Regions from separate parts of the Homo sapiens genome. Here all the other regions are linked to region 1. Evidence: promoter capture Hi-C in 16 types of primary human blood cells and fetal thymus (Javierre and others, 2016). All regions are on one chromosome and are shown on one strand. The core of a region is centred on a gene start or on the middle of the fragment in contact, and the rest is flanking DNA. Distances in the headings are between cores, read along the strand shown.

Region 1 (4,859 bases), core at 2,139-4,638:
GAAAGAAGGGAAATATATAGCCAGCCAGCTGTTCAAAGGCTTACAACCTTGCTTTTATTGTCCGGGTAAGTTGGTGAGGTGGGGCATCAGAGGAATTCCAAACATACCATCCCAGAGAAATTTTAATATGTTCCACAGTGTCATACACAAAGAGGAAATGACAGCTGATCACAGCCAGGGCAGGCCACAGCAACCCAGGCCCTGGAGCTCACCCACCCTGTCTCACAGCCCTGCTTCCCCGCTCTGCCTTAGCACTTCACAGTCTGTCCACCTGCCTTCCCATCCCCTCTGCTCCCACTGGCTGCTGGCCTAGTGCAGAGGGCCTGGGCAAAGAAGCAGTCACTGGCCGTCATGGGAAGAGGTGAGGATGGGCTCGAAGGCCGCTGGCCAAGAAGCTGAGGGCTGGCTAGGGTGAGTCAGGCACCCCAGGGAGTCAGAGGCATTTTAATCCAACCACGGGGGATTATCTGCTGATAAGGACCAAGTCAAGGACCCTGGTGATGCTGTTTTCAGGGTTTTTTTTTTCCCCCAGTAACCTAAACACGTGATAAAACACCATACTGGGTTATTTGAAAGCAACACTGTGTGGCTATGATGGAGACCTGGGTTTGGGGAAGAGTTTCCAACAGCTTCTTCCCAGGGGCCTCTTGAATTTAGGCCAGGCCCAGAGGTCATTTGTTTTGATACTGGGGGTGGGACAAGTAAGTGGTGAGGGATAGTGACTGCATCTTCCTCCATATGCATGTTTCTAATTCGATGATTCATCAAGTGGCCCTGATGTTAGCTACTGAGTAGGCGACTCACACCCATCCCCAATAGAGACAGCATATGGTCCTTTCCACAGGGTGCTCAGGAGAGCAGAGAAAGGATAAACTACTGTCTTTTTCCGGGATTCTTCTACCCAGGCTGGAAAGATCTAGCCGTGTTAGCTGTGCAAATGACGTGTACCCAGGATCTGGTGAAAAAGGCCAAAGGGGAATCCCTTAATCATAAATGGAAAGAAAACCCACTGATGAGTGAGAATCATTTCAAGTAAATCTAGAAACCAGTAGCTGTTTTAAATAATTCTTTATAACAGGAAAGTTATTGCCCACTTTACCCATTGGCAATGCCCATTTCAGTTCCAAAATCTAACTAGAGATGGCATATGGACTGAGAATTAGAGTATGGGACAATGTCTCATTCACCTTTGCATCCATCGGGACTAGCATAGCACTGGGCATCTAGAAAATGCTTAATAAATATTTATTTAAAAATTGATGAAATAAATAATTAACCAGAGAATAATAGTACTTGAATTGTGAGTTCTTAAAATAAAGATTGCTGGCCACCATTGGTGGCTATAATTCCAAGAAACTCACCACATTTTTCAAGGGCCCAGGAAAATAAATGAGTTGGAAATTGTTAAATGTATTGAAAAATGATTTATTTTTCCCTTGACAGTGTCATTGGAACTCGAATTAAGATTGAAAACTCCACAGGCACATTTCCATCTGTGGGTGTCAGCTGCTTGGTACACAGTCGTAAGAAGGCCTCAGCCAGTTCTCCCGTTACCTGAACCAAATGTATTTTAAAATAAATGATGCAAAACATTGCATTTTGTGTTCAAATACTCTCATGTAATGATCTGAATAATAGTCTAAGAAAATTGTTTTGATTCAGCTAAATGCTTTGCTAACCGCAGTTTTTTTAAAAAAAAATTACAATAAAATTTTACAGCAATGGAATCCATAGTGTCTTTTATGGCTTTCTTGACTAATGAATACCCCAAAGTTGTAAATTAACCTATTCAAATATCAGATTTTCATTCAGCGATGCTTATTGGGCTGGTTATCAGAGAAAATCAGAAAAGTTTTGCATAAACTGTGTACCAATTTGCAATGAAAACTGGCAAACAGGACCATAAAGTTTCCTTGAATTAGTAAGACTGATGAGAAGAAAATGAGCAGATATTTGCATCTGGTTTAAACGCTCAGTTGAGAAGCATTGTGCCGTCCCCGCTGTATTTGGTTGACACCCACAGCAACTCCCCATTTCAGTCATCTCTCTGTTTTCAAATGCACCTGGTATTTAATCTTATGTGTTGGGGTAATTTGCCAATGCCAGCTCCTTGTAATTAAAATACACTAATATTAGAAATGAAAAGAGACATGTTTCACAGCAGCCATATCTGTTATTAATGAGTTACAAAGAACTGTACAAGGGACTCCCATCTTGCCAAATAGCTTCCTTTCCCGCACCTGAATCTCAGTAAAGATGGGAGTCTGCCTCTCATGGAGGCTTATCTGGGTTTGTCTATTACAATGAGCCTCAGTTACTGGGCGTTCTGAGTCATTAACATTCTGTACACAATCAAACTTCCCGTCCCCCAAGAAAGAGTTATGCCCAGGCCTCCTACAGCTCAATTGTTCATTTAAAGAGAGAACTTGTATTCCAAAGTTTGAAAGAAACCTCGGAATATCCCGCAGGTAGGAGTCATTCCTACAGGTCCTGGTCTCTGTGCTGGTGGGAGCATCCTTTCCCGGTCACTCCTTGAACATCATGCTGCAGGGACGAGCTGATGACTAAAAATAACCCCCTGCAATAAGTCCAAGGCAAACAGCATGCATTTCCTCGGACTTTTTGCCCAATCAAAATCATACAGTAAATCCATCCTCATCTCCTCCCGGTGCTCCCCAATGCATCTATGGAAGCGAAGACCTGCACGCTGAAAGAAGAGTGCAAGGGAGCAGGATTCCTGCAAAGCGTGACACAGAAAGCTAGAAATAAATGTTGCCTATTGTTTGAAGTCATTCTGAGCACTCCGGCAGAGCCCTGGCAGGAGATCAGCAGCATACATAAGTAGTAATAAAAGTAAACAGTGCGCTTTTAAACTCGCAGTCTTGCCTGCGTTAATAGTGCCCCCATTGTAAGTGGGATGAGGGTGCTGGGGAAGATACTGGGCTCCATGAATCCATGTTGGCAAGTTGCTGCTTCGCAGCCCCCTTTCACGGGGTCAACTATAAGAACCATCACAAAGTTACATCTAACTACGCAGAGAGTTTGAAAAGAAAAATCTCTTTAAGTCAAACCAAAAGATATTTTCAAGCTTTTCTAGGAGGCTCCCTGCTCTGTCACAGACTTCAAAGACCCGTTCATTTAAGAAACACAATGCTAGCATGCTACAGATTAATGCAAATTAAAGTAATGCAAATTTAAGTGGTATTTAAAGGTTGTCTCTTTGTCTGAGAGGAGGATGAAATGCTCGGTTTGGAAAGAAGCGATTTCCTAGGCAAGCCGGCAGCGCTTGTTTTCCTGCTTACCTTAGGGGAACGCAGGGCTCCTTTCTTCTCAGACTTTTCTGAGAGCTAGAAAGAGGTCCTGTTACTTCCAAATGCTTTTGTTCTTCTGTCCCTCTGTCACATGGCTTGCCTTTTATATTTGCAACACACAAAAGTTAGGACTGTTGTTTAAGCGACACAGGGAGAGAGAGAGAGGGAGAGAGAGAGGGAGAGAGAGAGAGGGAGAGAGAGAGAGAGAATGTCAAATGGAAAAGTGCCATTGCAGTCATATATCAATCAGGCGTGCGGCCGCAGCAGCGCACTAGCAAATGGGAATGCCACGGAAATGTGAGGCGCTCGTTATCGGGGACTCAGCCTCTGCCCACCGCTCGGCTCCCTTCCACGGAGCATCTTACGATGGGAACAGCGTAGCAGAACAAGGGCGAGGAAGTTTCTTTCTTTCTTTCTTTTTTAATGGTATTATGGAACTAATAAGAGGCCAAATGAATATTCTGAATTTAATTCTTTTTCAAGCATGTGGCTGCCATAAAGATGTGCCGTCCGCAATAGAGACGTATAGTTTTGGAAATACAAAGGCAGTGTGGCATTCTGTTGAACGATTCGGCAGCTGACTGTGATGAAGTTGAAATTTTAAGTAAGAGAGGGGAAAGATGGGAACCAGAAATTTTTTTCTCAGGCGATGCTGTTAAAGCAAGTGCAAAACGCTGCCCTATTTTATCACGATGTGTGTGGGTGGTGAGAGTTCTTTTTTTCCGGGTTGTTCATCCATTAAATGATTTTTAGCAGCATATACATGATTAAATTCACAATGGCACTTTAATAAGCCCCTTCATCTGCATCATTTAGAATAAAACTTTAGGTCTGATTTAGAAACAATGAGAACGTGTATTCCTTGACTCCTTGAGCTATATGAAGGAGAAACTAATAGATAAAGCTAACCCATTACACAACAACTAGTAGAAAAGTGACAAAGGTAACTATGTGTGTGGGTTAAATACCTGCAGCTGAATCATGCTGTGTTATGAGCTGTGGGACTACAAAGGCAAATATTTCATAATTCTTGCCCTTTGAAAGCTTAAAATTAACACAGAAAACCGTCAGGGATTTTGGAGGAAAATACAAAGAACATTTAATAATTATTTTATGTCAGGTAAATCAGACCCAGAATAATTTGTTTTATTAATACTACTGATGAAGAATTAAACTGAGAATTTAAAATATATATATTTCGTGGAAAAAATAATACATTATAAAACTCAAAAAGAAATTTTTCTTGGGAGCTTCATGTAATTGTTGATGCTGAAACTGTCTTGTTCAACTCTGTATCAAACTATTTGTTATTCATTAATAAATTTACATTCACCTTATTACTTTTCCATGGGACCTTTACTCCAGTCACTGATATTTGCAAGAGGTGTCTTAAAACTTTCAGTTTTATTGCCAGAAATCCCTTTTCTTATGCTCCACTTGGAAAAAAAAATACCCTGTCTACCTTGGACCAGCCAGTCACAAACAGAATCCACCTGCGAAGATCATGGATAAATGACAAATTCAAAGCCTTGAAAAAAAACCTGGCAC
Region 2 (4,554 bases), core at 239-2,738, 230 kb after region 1:
TCAGAGCACCCAGATTTATAAAACAATTACTACTAGACCTAAGAAAAGACATAGATGGCCATACAATAATAGTGGAGGACTTCAACATCCCATTGACAGGACTAGACAGATCACTGAGGCAGAAAACTAACAAGGAAACTCTGCACTTAAGTTGGACTTCTGACCAAATGGACCTAATAGACATCTACAGAATACTCCACCCAATAACCACAGAATATACATCCTTCTCATCTGCACATGGAATAGTCTCTAAGATTGACCACGTGCTCAGTCATAAGTCTCAATAAATTCAAAAATATCAAAATTCTACTAAGCATCTTCTTGGACCACAGTGGAATAAAATTAGAAACCAGTACCAAGAGGAACTCACAAAACCACACAAATACATGGAAACTAAACAACTTGCTCCTGAATGACTTTTAGGTAAACAATGAAATTAAAGCAAAAAATTATTTGAAACAAATGAAAACAGAGACACAACATACCAAAACCTGTGGGATACAGTAAAAGCAGTGTTCAGAGGAAAGTTTATAGTGCTAAAGGCTTACATCAGGAAGACAAAAGTTGGCAGCATTTCCCCTAATAACTGCAACAAGACAAGTATGTCCGCTCTCTCCACTTCTATTCAATATAGTATTGGAAGTCCTAGCCAGGGCAATCAAGCAAGAGAAAGAAATAAAAGGCATCCAAATAGGGAAAAAGGCAGTCAAATCATCTCTGTTTGCCAATAATGTGATTCTACACCTAAAAAACTCCAAAGGTTCCTCCAATAGACTCCTAGACATGAAAAATGACTTCAGTAAAGTTTCAGGATACAAAATCACTGCACAAATATTAGTAGCATTTCTATACACCAATAACATTCAAGCTGAGAACCAATGAAGAATGAAATCCCATTTACAATAGACACAAAAAATAAAATACCTAGGAATACACCTAATCAAAGGGTGAGATACCCCTACAAGTAGAACTATGAAACACTGCTGAAAGAAATCATAGATGACACAAGCAAATGGAAAAACATCCCATGCTCATGGATTGTAAGAATCAACATCATTAAAATATCCATACTGCCCAAAGCAATCTACAGATTCAATGCAATTCCTATCAAATTACCAATGTCATTTTTTTCACAGAATTAGAAAAAACACATTTCTAAAATTCATATGGAACCAAAAAAGAGCCTCAAAAGCCAAAGTAAACCTAAGCAAAAATAACAAAGCCAGAGCCATCACATTACCCAACTTCAAACAATACTACAAGGCTATAGTAACCAAAACAGCATGGTACTTGTACAAAAAATAGGCACGTACTAATAGATCAATGGAAAAGAATAGAGAACTCAGAAATAAAGCCACATACCCACAACCAACTGATCTTTGACAAAGCTGACAAAAATAAACAATAGAGAAAGGACACCCTCTTCAATAAATGGTGCTGGGAAAACTGGCTAGACATGAATTGGATCCCTAACTCTCATTATATACAAAAATGAACTAAAAATGGATTAAAGACTTAAATGTGGCTGGGCTCAGTGGCTCACTCCTATAATCCCAACACTCTGGGAGGCAGAGGTGGGCAGATCACCTGAGGCCAGGAGTTCAAAACCAGCCTGGCCAACATGGTGAAACTCCGTCTCCACAAAAATAGAAAAGTTAGCTGGGCATGGTGGCATGTGCCTTTAATCCCAGCTACTCAGGAGGCTGAGGTAGGAGAACTGCTTGAGCCCGAGAGGCGGAGGTTACGGTGAGCTGAGATCATGCCACTGTACTCCAGCCTGGGTGACAGAGTGAGACTCCGTCTCTAAAAAAAAAAAAAAGAAAGGCTTAAATGTAAGACCTAAAACTATGAAAACCTAGGAAAAATTCTTCTGGACATTTGCCTAGGCAAAGAATTTATATTGAAGACCTCAAAAGCAAATGTAACAAAACCAAAAATTGACAAACGGGACTTAATCAAACTAAAGAGCTTCTGCACAGCAAAAGAAACTGTCAATGGAGTAAACAGACAACCCACAGAATGGGAGATAATATTTGCAAACTATGAACCTGACTAAAGGACTAATATACAGAATCTAAACTTAAATCAACAACAACAACAACAACAACAACATTCGAAAGTGGGCAAAGAACATGAACAGACACTTCTCAAAAGCAGACAGACATAAAAGCAGCCAACAAACATGAAAAAATGCTCAGCATCACTAATTGTCACAGGAAGGCAAATTAAAATCAAATAAGATATCATCTCACGCCAGTCAGAATGGCTATTAAAAAGTCAAAAAATAACAGATGCTGGCAAGGATGCAGAGAAAAGGGAATGCTTATACACTGTTGGTGGGAATGTAAATTAGTTCAGCTCCTGTGGAAAGCAGTTTGGAGATTTCTCAAATAACTAAAAATAGAACTGCCATTTAACCCAGCAATCCCATTATTGGGTATCTACCCAAAGGAAAAGAAATCTACATTTTCTTTATCCAGTCCACTGTTGATGGGCACCTAGGTTGATTCTATGAGGTGGTTATTGTGAATACCACTTTTATAAACATATCAGTGCAAGAAAGTGTGGTACATATACACCATGGAATACTCTGCAGCCATAAATAAAAGAGTGAAATCATGTCCTATGCAGCAACATGGATGCAGCTAGAGGCCATTATCTTAAGTGAATTGATGCAGAAACAGAAAATCAAATACCACATATTGTCACTTGTAAGTGGGAGCTAAACAAAACGTACACACATACATAAAGATGGAAATTATAGACACTGAGGACTCCAAAAAGGGGGAGAAAGGGAGGAAGGCGAGGGTTGAAAAGCTACCTATTGAGTACTATGTTCACTATTTGGGTGACAAGGTCAGTAGAAGCCCAGACCCCAGCATTATGCAAAATACACATGTAACAAACCTGCACATGTACCTTCTGAATCTAAAATTTTTGTGAAAAATTTCTGTCCTCAAATTAATGTATAAATTCAACACAATTCCAATCAAAATACAATCACCTTTTCATAGAGCTAGAAAAAGTGGTCATAAAGTTCATATGGAAAATTAAAAGTCTGCAAATAGGACAAATCTGAAGAAAAATTAGAACTTACCCTGCTTATATTTCATCGTGACATATCATGATGCTATAGTAATAAATGAAAACAGATAATACTGATTTAAGAATAGACAAGCAAACAAACTTAATAAAATTGGAGGGCTTAGAAACCAATTCATATGGATATGGGTCCATGACATATGTCAGATGTATCAGTACAAACCACTGGGGAAAGGACAGACAATGCATGATACTGGGTTGATTGGCAATCTGTGTGTGTGTGTGTGTGTGTGTGTGTGTGTGTGTGTGTGTGTGTGTGTGTGTGTGTGTGTGTGTGTTAACCTAGACACAAAAATTAATCTTAGATTAATTTAAGACCCAAATGTGGAAGGCAAATGTTGTAACTTTTAGAAGAAAATGGAGAAGAATATCTTCATATATGTGGGGCATACATAATTTCTTAAACAGAATGCAAAATTCACAAACCCATAAAGGAAAAGATGGACAAATTCAAGTATAATTAAAAATTTAAAGCTTTCATGTGACAAAACACACCATATTGGCACTTTTAGCCAGTGCAATAAAGCAAGCAAAAAGAAATCAAAGGAATCCAGACTGAAAATAAAGAAGTGAAAATGTCTTTATTCACAGACGACAGGACCATCAGCGTAGAAAAACTGATAGAATAAAAAGGAAAATTACCAGAACTAATAAATGAGTTTAGCAATGTTGCAGAATATAAGATCAATATACAAATATCAATCTTATTTCTATATATTAGCAATATACAATAAGAAACTAAATTTTAAAACATTATATTTATGAAAACATCAAAAATAAAATATTTAGTGACAAGCTTGACACGAGATGTGCAAGAACTATACCCTAAAAACTATAAAGTAGGGGTCCCCAACCCCCAGGCCACGGGCTGGTACCAGTCCGTGGCCTGTTAGGAACTGGGCTGCACAGCAGGAGATGAGCAGTGGGTGGGCAAGAGAGCAAGCGAATCTTCATCTGTACTTACAGCCACTCCCCATTGCTCGCATTACTGCCGGAGCTCTGCCTCCTATCAGATGAGCAGCAACATTAGATTATCATAGGAGTGCAAACCTTTTCGTGAACTGTGCATGCGAGGGATCTAGGTTGCACGCTACTTATGAGAATCCAATGCCTGATGATTTGTTACTGACTCCCATCACTCCCAGATGGGACCCTCTAGTTGCAGGAAAACAAGCTCAGGGCTCCTACTGATTCTACATTAATTATTATATATTATAATGTAATAATAATAGAAATAAACTGTGCAATGAATGTAATGTGTTTGAATCATCCTGAAACCATCTCCCAGCCATGACACCTGGGCCTATGGAGAAACTGTCTTTCATGAAACCGGCCCCTGGTGCCAAAAAGGTTGAGGACCACTGTTATAAAGCATTTCTGAGATAAAGGAAATCCAAAATAAATGGAGAGACATACCACGTTCATTAGTCAAAAGGCTCAATATTGTCTCCA
Region 3 (5,005 bases), core at 225-2,724, 250 kb after region 1:
CCATGATGGCCTTTATCAGGATACAGTCTCCTAGCTGCTACTTTATGAAAGAAGAAAATGAGGTCAAGTTAGGGAAAGTTATTTCTGGGATGCCTAAGAGACATGCGAGGGGGAAACGTCCCAGAGGTATTCGTGTTTCCAGGTTTATAGCTCAGGAGAAAGGTCTGAGCTTGAAGAACTAGCATGGACACAATCAGCCTACAGGTCAAAGCCAAAGCAGTGAGGGCTAGATAAAATGTACACATTCAGAACACATGTACACAGGGAGGGGAACATCATACACCGGGGCCTGTCGGGGGGTCGGGACCTAGGGGAGGGATAGCATCAGGAGAAATACGTAATGTAGATGATGGGTTGATGGGTGCAGCAAACCACCATGGCACGTGTATACCTAGGTAACAAACCTGCACGTTCTGCACATGTACCCCAGAATTTAAAGTATAATAAAAAAAAGAAAAAGAAAAAGAAGAAGGAAGGAAGGAAGGAAGGAGAAGAGAAAAGAGAGAAGGTAGAACACAAAAGACACAAAAGCAGAGAATTATCTCAGAGAATTATTTCATCTGAGGCATATTAAACACTAAACAAAAAAAAAATGTACCCATTCAACTAGTATTTATTAACACCCTATTGTTTGCCAGACACTGAAATAAGTCATAAGGCTAAAGCAGAAAACAAGAAAGAGAAGGTCCCTGCCCTCAAAGAGGTTATATTCTGATGAGGAGAGTCAGAATACACACACACACACAAACACACACACACATACGCATACATAATGAAAGGAAAATATTAGCTAGTAAAAGCACTGAGCAAAGAATTGAATTAGGGTATGATGTGATAGACACGGGCTATGTAGTTCCTTTTTCTTTGCTCAAAGAGTTTGAAAAGCATAAGATGGGGCTGAAGACAAGGTGCAGGGACCATTTGTGGGCTGAGCACAAATGAGCAGCCCCAAGCACAGAGGGCTCAGCATCCGGCACCAAGCATGTCATATGGATTGAGACATCTAGACTCTTGGTCTACGCTCTCATTTGAAGGCCATGCCATCACCTCCAAACTAGAACCCCCAGGAACAACTCTAGTGGTTCATTATTTCATTTAGTAACTATATGTATTGAGCCCAGCAGTAGGGGATGCTGCAGGGAACAACACCATTGAGTTCCCCACCCTCAGAAAGCTCACATTCGAATAGGAGAAGACACACACAGCACATACACATAGATACCCCACCCCCAAGTAAACAGATCTCTAAATAAAATAACTGCAAGTTGTGCTAAGTGCTGTGAAAAATATAAACAAGTGGCTAAGAATAACAGCAGGTGATCTACTCTAGATAGGATCTAGAAAGCCCCTCTGAATGAAAGCCCCTCTGGGAGTTGGCATTTGAGATGAGTCCTAGAGTGTGCCATGCAGAGGATGGTGGTGACTGCATTTCAGGCAGAGGGAACTTGGTGTGCATAGGCTCAGAGACAGGAAAGAGCTTGATGTGTTTGAGAAACCGAAAGACAGTCAGTAAGGCCAAAAGACAGGGCTGCAGAAAAAGAGGTGATGACACTGGAAATACAAACAGACTCACATCACTCAAGGCCTTGCTGGCTGCAGTCAAATGTTTGGATCTTATTGTGAGGACAATGGCAAGCCACTGAAGGATTTTTCAAGCCAGGCGAAACCTGATCTGAGTTTCATTTTAAGGAATTTCTGGGACGGGGAGGTCCTTCTTTTAGAGCATGCAGCTCCTTGAGGCCACCCCTCCAATCACAGCGTAGTGGCCCTTTATCCCACCCACAATTAGGGTCAGGCCTCCATCTGCAAAGCAACTTTTCCTCCTTGGATCGCCTGCCTGGCCTAAGTGCTTCCCAAAAAGCCCTATAAACTCACTAAAGTGTTTCCAATAGACTTTGCGAGTGCTGGAAAAATGGATGCTTTTGTAAAAGGACACAAATAATAAAACGAAACCACTCCCTCATTTCTGATGGAAATTTCTTGCTTTCACCTCCACTGCCTTCCATTAGCCCATGGCCTGTGTAATTGTCTCTGCTCTTTACTGTCTCCATTTATTTTCCAAAACACTATGAACATGTGTATGTGACTATGAACAATAACAAAGAACTATAAATTCTTATTGATCCCAGAAGGTTGGGAATTCTAAACAATAAAAATATGTCCTCTGACTGCTTCTCTCCAAAGAACATTTTGGAGACACAAAAGAGCTTTGTTAAAACAACAAATGAGCTCTTGGGACACTCTGGGCCTAATGGTGGGCTCCAGGCCACCAGGTAGTGATGCAATAGGCGACTGCAGACACAAAGTTGGAAAGACCTCCCTGCTACCCTCTCCTGGGCTCACTTCCTCATTTCTCAGCCCACATCTTGACTGCATCAAGCGGAGTTTACTATATAGCTTTCAGCCACTATCGTTGTCAGGAGCCAGAATTCTCAGCCTAAAGAGAAAGTCCCCTTTGTCCTCCATCCATGATTTAATTTATTCTCCTAAATGCTCCATTCACTTTGTTTTCAGCCTAAGAAGTCTCACGATTGTACTAGACCCTGAATTTGAATTTCCCTGTGTTTCTGCTGTTTGGAAATTTGCCTCGGTCAGCCACTGGATAGTCCCAGAATTCAGCTTCACCTTAGAGAAAATCTTAATCATGATTTGTTATAATATTTCCAACTACTGTCATATATTTTTCCCTCGATTCCTATATTTTCATGTCTTTCAGAATACACATATGTGTGTAAGCACATGTATACACAGATGCATACATATCACCTTTGCTCTGATAATCGGTGAAGTTTTTACTATTTTCCAACTTCATCACATTCCTGGAGATGTCCCTCCTTTGTCCCCCAGATTTTGGTAGGGAGGACGTGCTCTTAGCGGTGCTTTTTTCTGTCTTTCTCACTCAGATGCATCATTCCTGGCATTCTGCTGATCCTTCAACCTCCTGATTCATAAGACAATGTGACCAGCTGACTTTCTATGCTCTTGTCCCTCTGTTCTCATGTACAAACTCCTTTTATATGTAAATTCGTAACATTTACTAGAGTATTCGTGGCCAAAACTTTACCACAAAATAATACAAACTCAAAGAAATGCCAATTCCTAATAAAAAATAGTTAACTGATTAGGAAAGAAATAGTTCTCTCTGTTCTTTGGACAACCTTGAGGGGAAAACAGGTGATTGTTAGCAGAATATGGCTTACCTGAATGTATTATAATCCACCATATTTGTGTGCTTAGAGTCAGCAGCTTTAAATACCTGCTTGAGCTCTCTGGATTTTCCTTCTTCTTGCTTCAGCTTTTGTAGGGCAAGTTTGAGGTTACTGAAAGGATACTGTAAGGGGGAAATGAAAGGAAAAACATATTTAAATATTCCTAACAGTTCAGGAGCCCAATCTTGCTGATGGCCAGCAAAGGGACTTCACACTGTGAATATGAAGTTAGCAGATTTGTCTTTGCAAAGAAACCAACACCGAGAAGGCATGACTAGCTTTGTATCTCCTCAATTAAAGCTTCTGGACAACAGCTGACATCAGCATAGGCCCCAGCTCTGAGGGAAATGAGCTTAAGGAACACCAGGCCACAGAGATCAGAAAACAACCCCTGCTTCCATCTCAGCCTCCTCCCTCTAACCCTTGGATAGTGGCCCAATATGTTGGGAGATCCTAATGGAGAAAATGGGGATTCAAAACTGGATAAGTAGCCCTCCATTTTCTCTAGATCTTTAGAATGGGGTCCCCCTGGAACTGCTGTCCATTAGGCAACGCACTGATGAGAGCAAGGCTGGGTATCAAAGATCCACGCAAGCACCCTAACCCTCGCACAGTCATTCTCTGGGCCGTCCACTGTTCCTGTCTCTTATCCTGTGACTAGCTTTTTGACTTGGTAAGAATACTTCTTGCATCCAGTGAAACATAAGGTCGTAAATAATTATAGGTAAGAGACCAAAAATGAGATTAAATTTTAAAATAAAAATATTGATGGCAATTTAGTCTAAAGATCCCTCTCTCCCACCAGAAAATGATCCAGGTGGTTTGGCACCTATCGCAGACCCCTACTCCTCCCACTTTTTTTGCATTTCCTTTCATCTATTTCCATGACAGGATCTATTAGCTCTTTTGAAAAGATTCCTCAGGCTGATATTAAATAGTATAGCAATCCTTCTCTGCTTAGAATGTCTTTGTTAAGGGCAGTTTTAAAATAATGCAGTTTTGACTTGGGATGCTGATTCCAGATAATGTCCTACCCTGCTTTTATTGTCCTCAAAGGAAAAAAAAACCTTTATATCTTATATTTATGCTATATATATTTTATATTAAGGTATAGGCTCACCCTCTGATTAGAAATAGAACTCTAATTTACAATAGCAACACTGATTGAGCTTACCATGGGCCTCATGGTTAGCTCAGCGCTTCATACACATTATCACATCTAATCTTCATAGCAATTCTATCAAACAGGCACTGTTGTTCCTCCCATTCCAAAGATGAAGAAACTGAAGTTCAGGAAAAATACAATATCTAAGGTCCCTCAGCTATTAATGTGGAGTCAGGTTCCCAAGCCAGGCCTGCTGGTCTCCAGAAATCTAAACTCCCAATTACTGAGTTTCTCATCTAGATTCAGTGTTTTCGAATAGCTACTGGTTCAAGGTTTTATGATAACCTGAATCCCTAAGACTACAAATGGAGAGATGGCATGGCAGCCATGGAGGGCGCTTCTCAGGCCTCCTATCAAGAGAGACCCTGTGGAGAAGAGCATTGTTGGCTGACAGACTCCAGCTGCCATACCTTCCGGATTCACACAGAGTTCACAGGCAATGTCGCTGCTGGGGCCACACTCTCCCCAAGCTGTTCCCACCCAATGACACAGCACAGCAGGGGGACTAGAACCAGGTGATTCCTGCCTGACAGGGGACCTCTCTGATGGGCAGTCTGTGCTCTGGGGCTCCCCATCAGCCTGGTTGAGACTTTCTCAGAGCTGTGTTGTCAGCTGAGGCTCTCCCTACCCA

The links. Contacts are between HindIII fragments. The CHiCAGO score rates a contact against its expected background, and 5 or more counts as called.
Region 2: a fragment that was not itself captured here is called in contact with the fragment with the promoter of NDP in region 1 in 1 of 17 cell types (M2 macrophages); the score reaches 7.3 in M2 macrophages.
Region 3: a contact is called between a fragment that was not itself captured here and the fragment with the promoter of NDP in region 1, in 5 of 17 cell types (M1 macrophages, monocytes, M2 macrophages and 2 more). The highest score is 7.8, in M1 macrophages.

What each region holds. Positions count from the first base shown.
Region 1 is chrX:43,970,002-43,974,860 of GRCh38, forward strand. It overlaps NDP (norrin cystine knot growth factor NDP), which reads right to left and starts at 3,389. Exons shown (of 3, transcript NM_000266.4): 1 at 3,303-3,389. It overlaps NDP-AS1 (NDP antisense RNA 1), which reads left to right. Exons shown (of 6, transcript NR_046631.1): 6 at 1,444-1,551. The HindIII fragment of the contact is 1,267 bases long and covers 3,087-4,353 here.
Region 2 is chrX:44,205,707-44,210,260 of GRCh38, forward strand. The region is part of intron 11 of EFHC2 (EF-hand domain containing 2); the gene reads right to left. Among named protein-coding and RNA genes, the nearest start is that of EFHC2, 140 kb to the right of the region's middle. The HindIII fragment of the contact is 4,172 bases long and covers 1-3,574 here.
Region 3 is chrX:44,226,449-44,231,453 of GRCh38, forward strand. EFHC2 (EF-hand domain containing 2) reads right to left here. Exons shown (of 15, transcript NM_025184.4): 11 at 3,201-3,331. Among named protein-coding and RNA genes, the nearest start is that of EFHC2, 110 kb to the right of the region's middle. RefSeq lists a silencer at 2,231-2,280. The HindIII fragment of the contact is 4,065 bases long and covers 1-3,507 here.